Regions from separate parts of the Homo sapiens genome. Here all the other regions are linked to region 3. Evidence: promoter capture Hi-C in 16 types of primary human blood cells and fetal thymus (Javierre and others, 2016). All regions are on one chromosome and are shown on one strand. The core of a region is centred on a gene start or on the middle of the fragment in contact, and the rest is flanking DNA. Distances in the headings are between cores, read along the strand shown.

What was found. The method cuts DNA at HindIII sites, captures the fragments that hold promoters and counts their contacts. A CHiCAGO score of 5 or more calls a contact.
Region 1: a contact is called between a fragment that was not itself captured here and the fragment with the promoter of CCDC59 in region 3, in 1 of 17 cell types (total CD4 T cells). The highest score is 5.3, in total CD4 T cells.
Region 2: a fragment that was not itself captured here is called in contact with the fragment with the promoter of CCDC59 in region 3 in 1 of 17 cell types (total B cells); the score reaches 5.4 in total B cells.
Region 4: a contact is called between a fragment that was not itself captured here and the fragment with the promoter of CCDC59 in region 3, in 5 of 17 cell types (total B cells, total CD4 T cells, non-activated CD4 T cells and 2 more). The highest score is 11.9, in total B cells.
Region 5: a fragment that was not itself captured here is called in contact with the fragment with the promoter of CCDC59 in region 3 in 4 of 17 cell types (total B cells, total CD8 T cells, naive CD4 T cells and 1 more); the score reaches 11.9 in total B cells.
Region 6: the fragment with the promoter of PAWR here is called in contact with the fragment with the promoter of CCDC59 in region 3 in 2 of 17 cell types (total B cells and naive B cells); the score reaches 18.4 in total B cells.

What each region holds. Positions count from the first base shown.
Region 1 is chr12:79,779,176-79,782,057 of GRCh38, forward strand. It overlaps PPP1R12A (protein phosphatase 1 regulatory subunit 12A), which reads right to left. Exons shown (of 25, transcript NM_002480.3): 23 at 2,640-2,687. PPP1R12A-AS2 (PPP1R12A antisense RNA 2) reads left to right here. Exons shown (of 7, transcript NR_187531.1): 7 at 1-731. Among named protein-coding and RNA genes, the nearest start is that of PAWR, 90 kb to the left of the region's middle. The HindIII fragment of the contact is 3,713 bases long and covers 1-2,882 here.
Region 2 is chr12:79,669,466-79,672,304 of GRCh38, forward strand. The region is part of intron 2 of PAWR (pro-apoptotic WT1 regulator); the gene reads right to left. Among named protein-coding and RNA genes, the nearest start is that of PPP1R12A-AS2, 19 kb to the right of the region's middle. The HindIII fragment of the contact is 1,343 bases long and covers 879-2,221 here.
Region 3 is chr12:82,357,126-82,359,977 of GRCh38, forward strand. CCDC59 (coiled-coil domain containing 59) reads right to left here and starts at 1,262. Exons shown (of 4, transcript NM_014167.5): 1 at 1,098-1,262; 2 at 1-144. The coding sequence starts at 1,251. It overlaps METTL25 (methyltransferase like 25), which reads left to right and starts at 1,404. Exons shown (of 12, transcript NM_032230.3): 1 at 1,404-1,699. The coding sequence starts at 1,441. RefSeq lists enhancers at 1,071-1,631, 1,142-1,701, 1,632-2,192. The HindIII fragment of the contact is 1,548 bases long and covers 1,027-2,574 here.
Region 4 is chr12:79,921,008-79,923,806 of GRCh38, forward strand. The region is part of intron 1 of PPP1R12A (protein phosphatase 1 regulatory subunit 12A); the gene reads right to left. Among named protein-coding and RNA genes, the nearest start is that of PPP1R12A, 13 kb to the right of the region's middle. The HindIII fragment of the contact is 5,323 bases long and covers 1-2,799 here.
Region 5 is chr12:79,945,097-79,947,796 of GRCh38, forward strand. No RefSeq gene overlaps it. Among named protein-coding and RNA genes, the nearest start is that of PPP1R12A-AS1, 11 kb to the left of the region's middle. The HindIII fragment of the contact is 1,353 bases long and covers 624-1,976 here.
Region 6 is chr12:79,689,542-79,692,241 of GRCh38, forward strand. It overlaps PAWR (pro-apoptotic WT1 regulator), which reads right to left and starts at 1,423. Exons shown (of 7, transcript NM_002583.4): 1 at 1,331-1,423; 2 at 188-850. The coding sequence starts at 703. PPP1R12A-AS2 (PPP1R12A antisense RNA 2) reads left to right here and starts at 491. Exons shown (of 7, transcript NR_187531.1): 1 at 491-855. RefSeq lists silencers at 131-650, 1,421-1,720. The HindIII fragment of the contact is 6,027 bases long and covers 1-2,700 here.

The DNA of each region.
Region 1 (2,882 bases), core at 244-2,743, 2.6 Mb before region 3:
TTTCAAAGAGTGACAGGCAAAGCCAACACACAACACATTATTGCAGTGTACTGTTTTATTCTCCCTTAAATGATAAGCATTCTGGGGTGTTATGCAAAAAGCAAGCAGCAGTAATTGATGAGCTGTAAAACTGGTTAGGTCATACCGCCCAGAAGATACTGACTCTTGCCGGTCACCTTTCAGATACAAACCATTTAAATTTAGTTTAATCACACTGAAACTATTTCCAAGACACTCTTTCCCAGATTAATAAATAATGCTGATATTTAGTCAAGCAGTACATTTACTGTAAATGTTAATGTTTTTAGGGTATGTGATTTTAAAAAGTAGACAGAATCCTACTGATCGTCTTTTAAGTACCATGTTATTCCAACATCGGCATGCCTAAACATTATTGTATAGACAGAAACATTATTTTCAATACATAGATCTTTCTTCTACTAAATAATACAGTCATGACAAATTCATACAAATCATCACACTTCTCAAAATACTAGCACATAAAGTGTCATATTTGATCTTTACCACTTTGCAAAATATCAGAAATAGAATATTTCTTCTGAGAGGTAATCTCCCTATGAGCCTCAATTTTATTAGGTGTCTTCAAGATTTTAAATTAGTGGTAAAGTAAGACAAGAAAACTACACCCAACTGCCTGATTCTATTAGCTCAATGAAATTGACATCTGTAAAATGATATGAAATTTCTTATGTTTGACAAACATATTAACATTAAAAAATATAACTGGCCAGGCACAATGGCTCAAGCCTGTAATCCCAGCACTTTGGGAGGCCTAGGTGAAAGGATGCATAAAGCCAAGAGTTCAAGACCAGCCTTGGCAACAAAGTGAGACCTTGTCTCCAAAAAGAAATTAAAAAAATAGTTGGGTGTGGAGACATGCACCTGTAGTGCCAGCTATTCTGGAGGCTGATGCAGGAGGATTGCTTGAACCCAGGAACTGGAGGATGCAGTGATCGGTGACTGTGCCACTGTACTCCAGCCTGGGTGACAGAGCAATATTCTGTCTCTTTAAAAAAACAGACAAACAAACAAAAAAAAAACACAAGGAAAAAAAATATGGTTTAGAGAAAATGCATGTAAAGTGTTTAATTTTGTGCCTGCTTGATATACAGAGAATGATGAATAAATGTTAGCAGTTACTATTAATACCATGATTATAGAGAGTGGATTAGCTACTTTGTAATTTATCTGCATTTGACAAGCAGAAAAAGGAGGTTAGGTGAGCTTGTCAGAGTATGAATGTGTCTGCATCATGTGTATGTTAGAAAAAAAAAGTATCAAAATATCAGCTATCTCTGCATGACAGATTACAGATAATTTAATATTGTCTTCTTTTGTTAAAGTTTCTGTAATAAACATATTACTTTCATAAGAAAAATTAAATATTTAAAATTGTGATTGTATTTGAAAAATAAATACTACTTTAAGTACAGTTTGTTATCCATGCCTTTCATCTCAACCGTTAGTATAACAGAGAACTGATTTTATTATTTCTGCCTATCCTGGAGATAAAATTCAGTAACAGTTAAATATTCTAACAGGATATAATAATATTAAATTTATTAAAACAATATTTTAGCAATTATTATGTCCATTTTGAAAACATGACTCAGAACACTAATTTTTAAAACTTGCAGAAAGCATAATAAAATGGTAGCTATTGCAAGGTACAACTAGCAAATGACAGACATTATAACACTATTTTTATATTCTTTTTTTTTAACCATTTCTCTTTTTTTTGGTGAAAAGGGCAAATTGGTTATTTTAAAATAGAATGGAAGAAAAATGTTTTTATATCAATAGCTCCTAAGTATTTACTCTTTGATCATAGCTACCAGCATGTCATTTCTTCTCTGGTCGAAACCCTACCAAGTCTAGCTACTGCTCAGCTACACTACAAACAATCTTTGGGCACTTTTCCTTTAACTTTTGGATCATTTATACATTTTCAACTGATGAGGCTAAACTTGTACAGTTATTCCTATGACTACTCCTAGACCTTTGAGCAACAATAAGTGAAGAGAAATACAAGTGAATGTATTACAATCAATAAAAACTTGCAGAAAGACATCAAGTGGCATAAGGATTTTCTTGTAATCTTTTTTTTGTTTAAAATAGCCTACTTAAGTTAAATATTTAAACTCAAAATTTTAAAAAATTATTAAATTAACTTTAAAAAGAATTTGAAAATTTGATGTTCCAGATTTAGAAACTTTATTTCAAGAACGAAAGTATTTTAGGTTTATAAAGAATTAAAATAAATGTATTTATGATTAAAACGTTTTAGGTACAGGCCATAAGAGATAAACGGCATTTCAAAAATATCAAATTCACTATCAAAATGTGTATAGTACATTTCAGAATCAAGGCAAGACAGTTTTTTTAAATTCATTAAAAGAATTATGTGGTAAATTAAATTTTATTTAACAAGGTCATTTCATACCTAGAGAAACCCCATAGAATTCTATAAAGAAGTTGCTGCAAAATACATTAACTCAATAAATATTTAAACTAATTAAAACTGTCATCCATAATAACAAAATAAAAACAAAAAACCTACCATTGTTTACCTAAAACAAGAAAGAAAAAAATAATTATTTAATAAGTGGGACACTTACCCTTTTTTCCATTTCCAACAGTGATCTATCAGCAAATCTTTCTTGTCTCTGCAACAAAGTAAGAAATTATAAAAGAGATAAGTGCAAAAAAGTTCAGGGGTGACCACAGTAATTCTCTTTTAATAGGTATTAAATCACAATATTCAAGTGGAGTAAAACACAGGTTCGTGAGTAAAGCAAAGAGAAAACAGGATTTGTATTAAAATAATAAAGAGTGCAATGAATGTTTAGAAATAGAATGGT
Region 2 (2,839 bases), core at 300-2,799, 2.7 Mb before region 3:
AGACCTTAAATAACTAAGAAATATATTTAAAAAAACTCCTCTTCTAATAACCATCTTAAATTATACATACTTCATTTTCAAGTCCTCCAACGAAAGCAACTCTAACAAACATCTAGATAATCTAAACTTAGTTGAGTAATTCTCAAGTGTTCTTTAAAAAAAGAAAAAAATCAAATGATACATGGAAAAAGATTTCAAAATATACTGAAACTGTTAAATAAGTTATTTATATAATGAATAAACAGTTATTCATTCTTTTTTTTTGTTTGTTGGGTTTGTTTTTTTAAGACAGTCTCTTGTTCTGTCACCCAGGCTGGAGTACAGTGGCACAATCTTGGCTTACTGCAACCTCCACCTCCCGGTTCAAACATACTATAGGTGTGCACCACTATACTGGGCTAATTTTTGTATTTTCAGTAGAGATGGGGTTTTGCCATGTTGCCCAGGCTGGTCTCAAACTCCTGAGCTCAAGCAATCCACCCTCCTCCACCTCCCAAAGTACTGGAATTACAGATGTGAGCCACCACGCTTGGCCTTTTTTGTTCTTAAACAGGTTACTTTTCTAAGAAAAATGTAAATATTTTTAACCTATGGGTATACAAAATGCTAAAAATAGGTGGATGTTTGAAACAGGAAAAAAAATTAAGTTGTTAATCACACTGTATTCATTCGTTGCACCACAGCATGTTTCTATTGTTTTTCCCCCATTTTAAAAAGCCATGTAAACAGTTTTAACAATGACAAAAAGTTTTAAGCAACTAATTGGCAGTACATAAGCAAAGTCCAAGAGAAAAATGCAAGTAAAGTTACTAAATTATAGAAAAGGCTGGTTGGTTGGTTGAATTGTATCCTCAAAGATTACAGAATTAGGTAATGAAAGCTTAAAAAACCAAATTATCAAATCTGTTACTGAAATCAAAATAAAATCCAAAGAGCAATATACTTTACCAGGAGAATGTCTATCTTATGTGTCACTATTATACATCATTTTTTCTTGGGGAAAAAAAAAATGCAATGAATAAGAATAAAAATTCTTCATAGAAAAATCATTAGGTTTCAAAATGCCAAAAATATCTCATTCAATTCATTCTGAAAAGTCCATCTGACATTAGAAAAAATAATTCCTGAGACAGCAAATGTTACAAAGGGAGTAATTTACAAAATATCAAGGTAATAGCAATCACTGTAACTGAACCTTTCTTATAACTACACGAATTTATCAATAGATACTCTCTAGTATCAAATATTAAAACTTCAGTTCACAATAAAAAAAAGGCTATCATAAGCTGAACTTCAAATTTTAAGTGTACTTCAAGATTTTGTGATTTTAAAGCAAAACCTTAGAAGAAAACACAATTTATAAATGAAATAATTTCCATATCAGAATATGTTTGCCACTTTTTTTTTAGGGGTTTTTTTTTTTCATTATTTCCCTAGTTGACAGACCACCTTCTTAATCCTACATGTCAAGCACTGAGCTAAGTATTAAGGATACTAAAATAGACTGTCAAGGAAAACCTAGCTTAAAAAGGAAAAATATTAGCCAGGCACAGTAGCACGAACCTCTAGTCCCAGCTACGCTGGAGGCTGAGGCAGGAGAATTGCTTAAGCCTAGGAGTTTGAGTCTAGCCTGGGCAAAAAGCAAGACCTTAGCACTTAAAAAAAAAAAAAAAAAAAAAGGAAAGAAAACATTACATTCAAATACTAATTTTAAATTCCACTACAGCCTAAAGTTGTTTGGTGGTGTTTTAAACTTTAATTCAACAAAATGGAAAGTACTAGACAACATAATTGAAATCTCTTTTCTCTAATCAATTTACCATCTAAAATATTCCACCAATTTCAAGATTAAATCCCTTCACTAGGAGAATCATGTGGCTAGATTTAATCAAAACAGGAAAGGTTTTAATCAATATTCTGTACTAGAAACATAGCCCTTATGTGTAGTTAGCGTAGAAGTAGCTTCTCTAAATTCAAATATATGGCTATAGGTTTTTGTAGATATTCATCAAACTGAGGCCATTCCCATCTATTCCTAGTTTACCAAGAAGTTTTACTGTGAATGGGTATTGGATCTTGTCAAATACTTTTTCTCCATCTATTAATATGAGATTTTTCTTCTTTAGCTTGTTGATGTGTTTACCATGTTAATTGTTTAGTTTCCTCGATACGAGGGATATAAAGACAAATAGTTCATTTAACTTTTTATGATAATTAAATAAGCTTATACATGTAATGAACTTAGAACAATGCCTAGCATATACTCAAAATGTTAAGATTATTTATAAAGAGGCTCAATCATAATTTCTACAAAAAGGACACAGCCAGGCACAGTTGTGCACCTGTAGTCCTAGTTACTTGGGAGGCTGAGGCAAGAGGATCACTTGAGCCCAGGAGCTCAAAGCCAGCGTGGGCAACATAGCAAGACCCTATCTCTAAAAATAAAAATATTAAAAAGCTATACTTCTGCATGACATCATTTTACTGCACGAATAGCAGTGAAAAGTATTGTTAGTTAATGGCATCAGCATCCACCCAATTGCTCTAAAGGAAAACCTAATTATCATTTTGATTGCTCTGCTTCTCACAGAAAGTGCTGTCAGCTCTACCTCTAAAACATATTCCATACGCAATCCCGTCTCTCCATGGCCCCTACCTCCCACCTGGTCACTCTCTCCTGTATTGCTGTAGTGGTCTGCCCTCTCCTTCCCGTACACAGAGCCCATTCTTTACCTACAACCTAAACTGATCTTTCTGAAACAAAAATTAGATCAAGTACTTCCTCTGCTTCAACCAACAAGCAGCTCCCAACTGCACTTAAACTCCAAACTCTACCATG
Region 3 (2,852 bases), core at 12-2,511:
CAGCTAAATAGAGATGTTTCAGATTATCTGGGTATCGATCTGTGAATTGAGATTCCAGTGACGTTTGAGCCTTCTTTTCCTTCCGTAGCAATTTCTTGTAACTTTGCTGTATTTTCAGTTTTCTTCGAAAAGCAAAGCCTTGTCCTACATTGAGGAATATCATCCAAAATTACTTTCAGAGAAAAGAAGTTGAACGAAGAATGGAGCTGTTAATTACAAATGAAAACTTTTTTTACGTCATCACATTCAGATTCTAGTATTATATTTTGCTTTAAAAAATTATTTCAAGCAACAAATTTAAGCTGATGGATTGCATAGTAAGTTGGCCCTTTGCAAAAAGACCAGGCTAACAGTCATGCGGAAATCCAAGTAAGAATCTCAAAGAAAAACTGACCAGTTCAGACTGTTGCACAACTTGAGTTTACAGCTGTATTCACAAATCAAAACAAATTCCTTAGTTCATCTAAAACACTTAATCTGAGCCTTCAATAAATGCTTAAAAAATAGGAAAGAAAATGCCACATCTAGTATCTTGGACAAACTACATGTTTTCGAAAATGTTTCAACACGAAAGAAAAAGACAGTGTATGGTTGTCTGAAAAGCTAGCAATTATCGGAAGACTGAATTTAACATTTATATATTCCAAGTGGGATCTAAGAGACCTTACAGACAGCAATACAAAATGACAAACACAAATTAAAGCGAAGGCTGGAGGGCCTCGGGTATTTGTAATAAGGAAGAATTCGGAGCAGTGTTTCTGGCCCTGTCCTCCTCTCTATCCTTTACCTTACCACATGCGCAAGAGTTCACAGGGTCATAGACTCTCTCTGCTCAGTTTCTCAGGAAAAATATAGGAAAAAAGTTCTGATGAAATACAGGGTTACGTCAGAAAAGACGTTTAAATAATAGCAACACTGCTCCGTCTTCCTATCTAGAGCTCTGCGAAGCTCACAGCTTTAGCGGGCTCAGGAATGAATTCCCTTGCCCCAAGTAGGACCGGGTCTGGTTCCTAAATCCTTCTTCCAAGCTTCAGCGAATCTTATATCCTAAAACTTAGCAAGCCTGAGGATTTGCAAATGGTTGCCTTCTTACATACCCTCGCGAACGCTCCCCACGAAGGCTTGCGGGTGGTTAGGCCGCCATGTCTTCTGTCTCACATTCTTATTCCTGTACCCGACAGTGGAAACCCCTTCACCACGCGCCTCAATACCACCAGGCCGCCACTTCGCGGACCGCCTCACCGGCGCCATTGCAGCCGACTAACTGCGTCATCAGAAGACCACGACGGACGCCCACAAAATACGTCACCAAGCCGAAGCAATCAATCGCTCAGAAGGAATCCGGCTCGGAGCTCTACTGAGCCTGCCTGTGCTAATTTGGGCCGAGCTGGCGCCTCACGGCCATGTTTGCGCCACCTACAGCCTCGGAGGGTGAGCGTCATGGCGGCTTCTTGCCCTCTCCCGGTGACCCCGGACCTGCCCACGCTGCGTGCCAAGTTGCAGGGACTGCTGCAGTTCCTGAGGGATGCCCTGTCCATTTCCAATGCACATACCGTGGATTTCTACACAGAATCCGTGTGGGAGGAGCTGGTCGACTTGCCACCGGAGACAGTGCTGGCTGCGCTGAGGAAGTCAGCGTCGGAGACGGAGGCCCTGCCCTCAGAGACGCGCCCCCTAGTGGAAGCAGAGTGGGAAGCAGGTGGGTGGTGGGGTAGGCGGGGCGGGAAGGGAGGCGGAGGAGAAGGTCCCGGCAGACGAAGCGAGCCCCCTGGTGGAAGCCAGCAGAACCAGGTGCGTGGCGGCGGAGGCGGGGCGGCCCGCTGGGAAACCGAGGAGGGGTCGGATTAGTTGAGGGGTGGGGTGGGGATGTTCTTTGGAATCAGGATCACTCTTTCTTTGGGTGCTTGTGTATGTCCACAATTTAAAGAAAGCAGGAAACAGGGCAGGGGAGTTCCTTCATCTAGTAATTCCATAATAATTGACGCTAGGGAAACTAGGGGAGCAGTGCTCTCACAGGTTTTATAAATGCCAGCATGTGGTGGAAGATTACTCAACAGTTAATAAAGATAATTTCAAGTGGTGGTAATGAAGTAGAAAATAAAAACAGTGTAATGTGGTAGGGATTGTGTAAGGAGGCTGCCTCAATTTAGGAGGTCAGGAACATGAGAAGGCACTAGCTGCAGAGCCACAGGGAGGGGTTGCAGGCGGTGGGAACCGCAGGCTAGGCTTGGCTCTAGCCAGGTGAGGGGCTGCAGGTGCAGGACGGGAGGCAAGCAGAGGCCAGATGGCACAGGCCTTTCTAGGCCTTGGAAGGATTTTGGATTTTAAGTGTGACGGAAACCCTTGGGATTATTTAGGCAACATAGTGACCTAATTCACATTTGAAAAGATAACTGTGAATTATTTGAAGAATAGACTAGGGCAAAAGCTGAAGCTGAGAGGCCAGTTAGGAGACTACCTCAGTAGTACAACAGATGATTGTATCTTGGACTAGGATGGTATTCGGATAGTCACTATTTCATTTAAAAACTATTTTAAAGTACCTAATATGTGTCTTGAATTTTTGTAGGCTCAAGCTTTTCCTACCCTCAAGAAATGTAGATTCTTCTCAGGCAAGCATATTTTGGAAGTAGAATGATGGACACCAACAGGCTTCTGGGATTTTTACTTTCCTTCTAGACTTCCCAAAGTTACCCTTACTAGTGAACTTTATTCATTGAGCATTCTCTGAATGCAAAGCATCACTAGAGGGACCTCTTATAATAGCACTTGGTAAATACTGTTGTTGTTTTTTTAAGTAATTGTTATTGAAAAGTTAGGCACTTCTTCAGTTTGCTCTCATAATAAATATA
Region 4 (2,799 bases), core at 16-2,515, 2.4 Mb before region 3:
TTTGCATTTCCCAAATGGCTAATTTCATTTTACTGTCGACTCTATGAGGGTACTGTTGGTATATTTTTGCTCAAAAATGTGTCTTCTCAGCACTTAGTAGTGTCTGGCACAGAAGAGACCTTTAATATATGTTAAATGAATATACAAAAGATGATTTTTTTTTAGGTGTGTGCATGGTAGAGGAGATGTACTGTATGCAAGTGAGGAGAAAACAGAAAAAGACCCTGAGATTCTAGCTTAGTAAATGGAAGACTGATATAAAAAATAAGATATGGATCATGTAAGAAGGAGGACAGATCATATAAAAAGAAAGTTGAAACTACATAAATAACACAAAAAAGAATAATAGACATATGAGAACCTTGGCAACATTCATCTTCAAGAAAGAAACTGACAAAAAGGTACACTAAACAGGTACATTCAGAAGACAAACCAGTAGTGAATAGGGTCATAAAAGGCTCAAAACATCTGCTGATAAGTTACCTATAACTTACAGAGCTTTCTCAGGGATGTCTTCCATTGATACTCTGGGTTAAGCCCGCCTAATAAAGCCTTTAATTTCACCTTGTATCTCTACTCTACCACTTATTTACATTGTAATCATCGGCTCATGCTGCCACCTCAACTAGATTGTATACTACATGTAGCCAGGGACCACTGTTTTTAGAGATTAGTACTGTGCTGGACATATGATAAATGGTGATCTCTCTATGTTTCTTGCATGAATGAGTTATTCACTAATTTAAATGAATAACAGCATCATATAAATGAATACAGATATTGTTTAATATTTTAATAACTTCAAAATTTTCAAACATTAGAACTAAACCTTACATAAAGAAAAAAGGAAGAACACTTTTTACCTTGTCTTCCCCAATTGCTTCTCTGAGTGAAATACAACTAATTTTATTCTCACAAACACACACACACAGAGTAATAAAGCAATAAAACAATTTTCCTCAGCCAGGCATGGTAGTGCATGGCTGTAATCCAAGCACTTTGGGATGCCAAGGCAGGAGGATTGCTTGAGCCCAGGAGTTTGAAACCAGCCTGGGCAACACAGCAAAACCTTGTCTCTACTACTAATAATAATGATTTTAAAAGTCAGCCAGTTGTGGTGGGCACACGCCTGTAGTCTCAGCTACTCAAAAGGCTGAGGTGGGAGAATCACTAAGGCCAGGCAGTCGAAGCTGCAGTGAGCTGTGTTCACACCACTGCACTCCCAGCCTGGGTAACAGAGCAAGACCCCATCTCAAAACAAAACAAAAAAAACAATAAATAAAACAAAAATCTGCCTGTGGGTGACATATAGGGGATAACATTATCGCATCAATTTAACAGATGTGTCAACATGAGTACTTTCACGGTTAGTTTTCCATTTTCAATATACTAGAAACTTTATTAAAAATGCCTTTTGCAGACTTAGAACTAACCCAAATCCCCATCAATGATGAACTGGATAAAGAAAATGTAGCACATACACACCATGGAATACAGTCATAAAAAAGAATGAGTTCATGTCCTTTGCAGGGACATGGATGAAGCTGGAAGCCATCATTCTCAGCAAACTAATACAGGAACAGAAAACCAAACACCTCAGGTTCTCACTCATAAGTGGAAGTTGAACAATGAGAACACATGGACACAGGGAGGACCATCACACACTGGGGCCTGTCGGGGGCTCAGGGGCAAGGGTAGGGAGAGCATTAGGACAAATACCTAATGCATGCAGGGCTTAAAACCTAGATATGAGTCGGTAAGTGCAGCAAACTACCATAGCATAAGTATACCCATGTAACACACCTGCACGTTCTGCACATGTATACCAGAACTTAAAAGTAAAAAATTTTTTAAAAAGTATTTTGTATAAACAATCATTTAAATGGCATGTTATTTTGAGCAAAACATAAGATTGCAGATAAGATTTCTAAGGAACAATCCTAAGGAATACAATGTGATGAGCGAGTAAAAATGTACATGGTATAGGCCAGGTGCGATGGCTCACACCTGTAATCCTAGCACTTTGGGAGCCCGAGGTGGGTAGATCACCTGAGGTCAGGAGTTCAAGACCAGCCTGGCCAACATGGTGAAACCCCATCTTTACTAAAATACAAAAATTAGCCGGGCATGATGGCGGGTGCCTGTAATCCCAGCTACTCGGGAGGCTGAGATGGGACAATCGCTTGAACCCAGGAGACGGTAGTTGCAGTCAGCCGAGATCACGCCCCTGCACTCCAGCCTGAGCTGCTGAGGGAGACTTCGTCTCAAAAAAATAAATAAATAAATAAATAAGATGTACATAATATTCACCATATGATAAAAAGTGGAAAATATACTAAATGTTCATCAGGAAAGGACTAGGAAAATAAATTCCAAGATGTATATGCACATGCACACACAATGGAATACGATACACTCATTAAAAGGGAAAATGTATATGAATATTCTTTAACACAGAAATGTTTCTTAAAATACATAATGTTTCAAAACTGGTTATAAACCAGAAAATTAGGTATGACCCCATTTATAGAAAATTACATACTTGTACAGAGATATTTAAAAGGATGTTAAACTTTTAAATGGAGCAAAGTCCAGTCCCGAAATTTTGGATAACATTTTATTTTTTACATTTGTCTTTAGTGTTTTAATTAAATAATTATTCTTAAACTTTTACAACTATTTTTATTTGGGATAAAATTCACATACAACATTAAACATACAAAAGTAAGCCATGTTTAAAAATAAAAAGGAGAGGCCAGGCACGGTGGCTCACGCCTGTAATCGCAGCACTTTGGGAGG
Region 5 (2,700 bases), core at 50-2,549, 2.4 Mb before region 3:
TCCTATCAGGTCAGAGTTCACAGGTTGATTGTTCACAGACTACACAAGTGGCTTGTTTGGCTTATGCCGTGCTTTAAAACGTGATGAATTATTTGTTGACATTTAAAAGCTAAACCGTTTCACATAAAATCTGGATTTCCAGTCTCTTTTGAAGAACTGGAAGTTCTGGCCACATTTTCCCGCATTTGACAGGCTCTAATGTCACCACTCTGCAATAGTCCCCATCTGATCTGCTTTGTTCCGTTGTCACTTCTGCTACCTGCCTGGCACCTGAGAGCTTTGGCAGTTGCTACTTCTGCTTCAGATGATGAGAAATTATTGAAGCAAGAGAGTAATACCAGATATTTGGGTCAGAAAGATCATTCTGGAAGAAAAATAGAGGACAGGCACCGGGGCATAGCGAAGAGTGCCCTAAAGAAATGAATGCAAATTCTAGAGTAACAGTGGATATGTTTACAGAGGGAGAACAAACACATCACTTTGCCTTAGACACCATTTATCCTCCTAAACCGCGGGATAGCTCAGAGGAGACAAGACTCATGCAGTACTGAGGTGACAGTTGAAGATGGCCTCAGCTAGAGCAATGACAGTACAGATGAAAAGGAGGGGCCAGGAATCAATAAAGCTTAATCATTGATTGTATGTGGCATGTAAAAACTGGAAGGAATGTAAAATAATTTCCAAGTGAATGATAAGAGAACAAGGTGCTAAAAATCTTCACTTATCACACTAATAAAAAAATTATTCTGTATTGAACAAATTTGCCTTCATAGTGATTAGCTTACTAGATCTATTTTCACATATGCCTAGTAACTATAAATTAGTCAATTATACATCATTTCTAAGTAAAACTCTAGGAAAGATAATTAAATGCAAAATGAATGGAAATTTTAAGAACTTAACGATCACTAGGAACAACTAAAGGTTTTTTGAGAAATGAGCCATGCTAAATTAGGCTCGCTTATCATTTTGTTGCTTGTGTGTTTGTTTTGTTAAGAATGCTAGGCTAAGTCAGGATCACGTAGTGATAGAGTCTGAGAGAGTAGGCACAATTAATAAAACTTCTCTAAGCTGCTTTGTCATGATAGGTACATGGTAGTCATTGCATTTTTTAACCTGAACACATTATTTCTCATACTGTATCAGCTTTCCATTTTTCTTTTTTCTTTCTTTTTTTTTTTTGAGATGGAGTTTTGCTCTTGTTGCCCAGGCTGGAGTGCAGTGGCGCGATCTTGGCTCACTGCAACCTCCGCCTAAGGTTCAAGCGATTCTCCTGCCTCAGCCTCCTGAGTAGCTGGGATTACAGGCATGCACCACCATGCCTGGCTGATTTTGTATTTTTAGTAGAGATGACGTTTCACCATGTTGGCCAGGCTGGTCTCAAACTCCTGACCTCGTGATCTGCCCGCCTTGGCCTCCCAAAGTGCTGGAATTACAGGCGTGAGCCACCGCTCCTGGCCAGCTTTCCATTTTTGAAATGATTCTCCACATTATCCTAGTTTCTCTTTTTCAATTTTACTTTCCATTTTTAATTTTTTCATTTGGTTTTCAGTCACTAATTGAGTGACAGTGTTGTCTTCTACCCATTGAACTTTAGATATTTCTAGTTTTCCCAAACTATATGACTTTTATTTAAATCCTCAATATTATTACACCTATTGTATATATCTTTACCTCTCTGACTCATAATTTCTCACTTCTCATACGCACACATGTGTACACACACGCTATATATATATGTATATTCTATAGTATACTATATGGAAACGATTTAATTTTTATTTTACTTGCTTTCATTTTTCATTATTTTTCAAATTCATCCTTTTGAATTTTATCCATATGTCTTATTTTTATTATTATAGATAAAATTCTATAACTATGACATTCTTTTTATACCCTATTATGTAGTTACTCCAGTAATTACATAATATACATATATACATATAATGTACACAATAGACGTATAAAAATAAAGAAGCTTGTACATGTTTCATTCACACCTATGTTGGTAAAAGAAGATATGAAAAACATACTGAGAGGAATAAGGGTTAGGTTTGCCACATGCATACAGATTTGTAAGACATGAATGAGTTGAAATTATAAACGAGAATGACTTTAATTACATCTAAGTAGGCAAACAGCCAAGATCTTTCTGTCTGAGAAAGTAATTAATTTTCACTTTTCTTTAGCGTAGGTTAAAGAAAAATTTTAGAGTGGATAAGAAAGCCGTTCCTCTGTTCATTTTCATAAAAATCATTGCAATATCTAATCTCTCAGGAATAGGAAATGTTTATATGGCATTAGATTAGTTGAGATCTGAAGTGAAAGCTTGAAAACCTGTCTCAGTAACATTATTCCTGTACTTTTATAGCTATTCTTGTGTTTTTTACTGTGACACCCTGTCTGGTTTCCTTTATCTCCAGATTCCTATTACAGATCAACCCTGTTTATTTCATTTCTAGAGGTAAAAGTTGACATAGTATGGTTTTCTCAATTGTAAAGGTTTCTGGTATGCTATCGGCTTAATTCTGAAGGCAAGACAAATATAAGAAGTAAAGAGGAAAGAACTAATATTTTGGCACGATGAAGCTGTTTTAGATATTGATTATGGTGATGTTTATATAAAAGTATACATTTGTCAAAGCTCACAGAACTATACATGAAAAAAGCTGAAGCTTACTGTGGGTAAATTATGTTTCA
Region 6 (2,700 bases), core at 173-2,672, 2.7 Mb before region 3:
GGGGAACTTCCCAGGAAGCATTTGTTCAGAGTAAAACTCCATCACCCCCTGCCTGCCTAACTCGGTGAAGGGACAAGTACGAGCCAGGGGAGGTAAACTCTGCGCCCCGGGTAGCTCCCAGGAGGAAGACACCGGGAGGCAGCTGCCCGCCCCGGCCCGGTCCGGCTGCGGCCCCCGCCCGGCTCACCTCTGCGGCAGGGATGTTGACCACGCCGGTGGAGCGCCGCTTCTCCCGCAGCTTCCTCTTCTCGATCTGCCCCTTGCCTTTCCTGGCACTGGGGCCCGAGCTCTTGCCCTTCTCTGGGACGCCGTCCGGCTCCTCCTCGTCACGCTGGGGCGGCGGTGCAGCCGAGGCAGAGGCGGCTGGGGGCTCGTCCTCCGACCGCCGCGGGCCGGGGGCCGCCCGCGTCAGCATGGCGGAGCCGACCGCGCAGTTCACGCCCCCGGGACCGGGGACGGCAGGTGCGGCCGGCGCGCCGCCCGGGAGGTTGTTGTTGAGCTCGTTGGCAGCGGCGGCCGCCGGGGTGCCCAGAGCCCCCGCGGGGGGCTTCCCAGCGGCGTCGCTGCTGCCCCCTCCCGGGGGGGCCGGGCCCGGGGGGTTCTGCTTGGCGCGCATCTTCTCGCGTTTCGCCTTCCACTCCTCCAGGAAGTCTGTGGTGCTGCCGCCGAGGCCGCTGCTGGTCCGGTAGCCACCGGTCGCCATATTCCCAAAGGGGCCGGTCGGGCTCTCACCTCAGGCCGCCCACCAGGGCTCCGGCCGCTGCCTCCTCTTCCTTCCTGCGGCCCCGAGGATGCCAGGAGACGACCTCCAGGAGAGGGACGGCCGCCGCTCCCACAGCAGCCGGCGGGGCTGAGGTGAAAGACAAAAGGGGGCGGGTAAGGGAAGCGTAAGATCCCCGCCCGACCCAAGGGTCTGCCCCCGGGCTGCGCCCCTTGGAGTCCTCGAGCGCGCCCACCAGTCACTACCGGCCAGCAGCCGCCGGGTCCCCACCCTGCAAAGTTTCTCCCACGCACCTACAGTACGGACCCCGACGATCGCCGCCCCTAGAAGGGAGGAGAGAGGACTGACCCCACCCCCAAGTCGGCCCGCCCGCCCCATCCCCACCAAGGTCCGCGCCGGCGGCGGTCGAGATACTAGGGCTAGACCCGCCACCTGTCGGCTCGTCGTATCGCCTGCTCCGCGCTCTAGCCACCGCCGGTCCGAGGTCCCCGTCAGCTACAACCCCACTCCCAAGGCGAGGCGCGGAGCTCCTAGCCGGTTCGCAGAGGAGGCGGGGACCCAGCTGTCCCGCCGAGCGTGGAAAGGACCGGGTGTGAGCGAGCGCCTTACCTTGGAGGAGCTTGTAGGGGACGAGGCGTAGGGCTGGGATCCGGCTCCCAGGTGTGCCGAAGCTGGCGCGCGCTCTTCCGCCGCGCGGAAAGTGCCGCGGCAAACTCGCGGTGCGGAGCTCCAGGCAATCCCAGGACAGGAGGGAGGGAGAAGAAGGAGGGAGGGAGGGAGGGAGGGAGCCAGGGGCGGGAAGGGAGCCGAGCGGCGCCGAAGCACGAGCGGAAAAGGCCGAGGCGGCGCGCGAGGGGCGCGGCGCGCGGTGGGAAGGGTCGTGGCCGCTGACGCCCCGCCCCCGGCGCTCAGGTGCGCGGCGTCGCGTCCGGCCCGCCGCTGCAGCCTGCCCTGCGCCAGCCGTCCTCTGCCCCGCTCCCGCCGCAGACCACAGCGCGCCCGCCGCGCTCCGCCCGCGGCCTGCGAGTTAGACGGCACATTCCTGGGCTAGCAGCTTCGCGGCGTCCGGCCTCCCGGCGCCTCCGACTCCGGGGCGGGAACGGCACTCCACGCCCTTCTTGCTTGTCTTCTCCGCCTCTCTCTTCTCCCACCACTCTTCCTTTTAAGTACAAGACCGTATTATTTGAGAGAAAGTCTCGAACGCTGCTGGCTAAGGGGAAAAGTGCGATAACTTGTGATGATTCAGGGAATGACTAGACAGGATGGGAAAATACCCACGTGTCTCTTTTCCTAGTCGCTGCTCCCTTTTCAGATGTACTAGGGCAGCGGGCAGGAGAATAGAAAGACCTGAGACAAACCCAGCACCCTCCTTCTAAGAAAACTGCGGTGCCCTGGTGAAAAGGGTTGGCTAAGAGGAAGGACTTACTAGTATCTTAGGGTTGCGGGAGAAAAAACTCAGTTCGACAGTTTATTGTATTGGCGATTCCAGTCTTGGAGTTTTCCCCTTAACCCTGTCTCTGCCTCTCCTCTTTACAGAGAATGAATTTAGCAGCAAAGCTCCCTACCAAAGTACTAACGCTGCACTGATGCTAATTTGAGATGAGCTGGGGCAGTGATTGTCTCTATTTTTTCATTATTAACATGCCAGAGGCTTATCCTCTGATGCAAGTCATCTGAAATTTCTGGATCAGAGCGGGGTGGGCTGTCACTGACGCACCTAAGACTGACCTTTCTATATCCAAGTAATGTCAGGGCACATCATTGTGGGAGGCTACAAATGCCAGGTCTCCATTTTGTAAAAAAGTAGGAGAGCCCTAAGTCACGCTCTTACCTAACATAAACCTTTCTTCCTACTTAATATTCCTGTTTTGCCCAGGTAGCACATGATGAGTGAGCAATCAGTGTTTGCCTGCCACAGAACTGGGAACAGAAGAAAGTGATTCACATGCTCTATATTTCTCAGGGAAAGACAGTTTTGG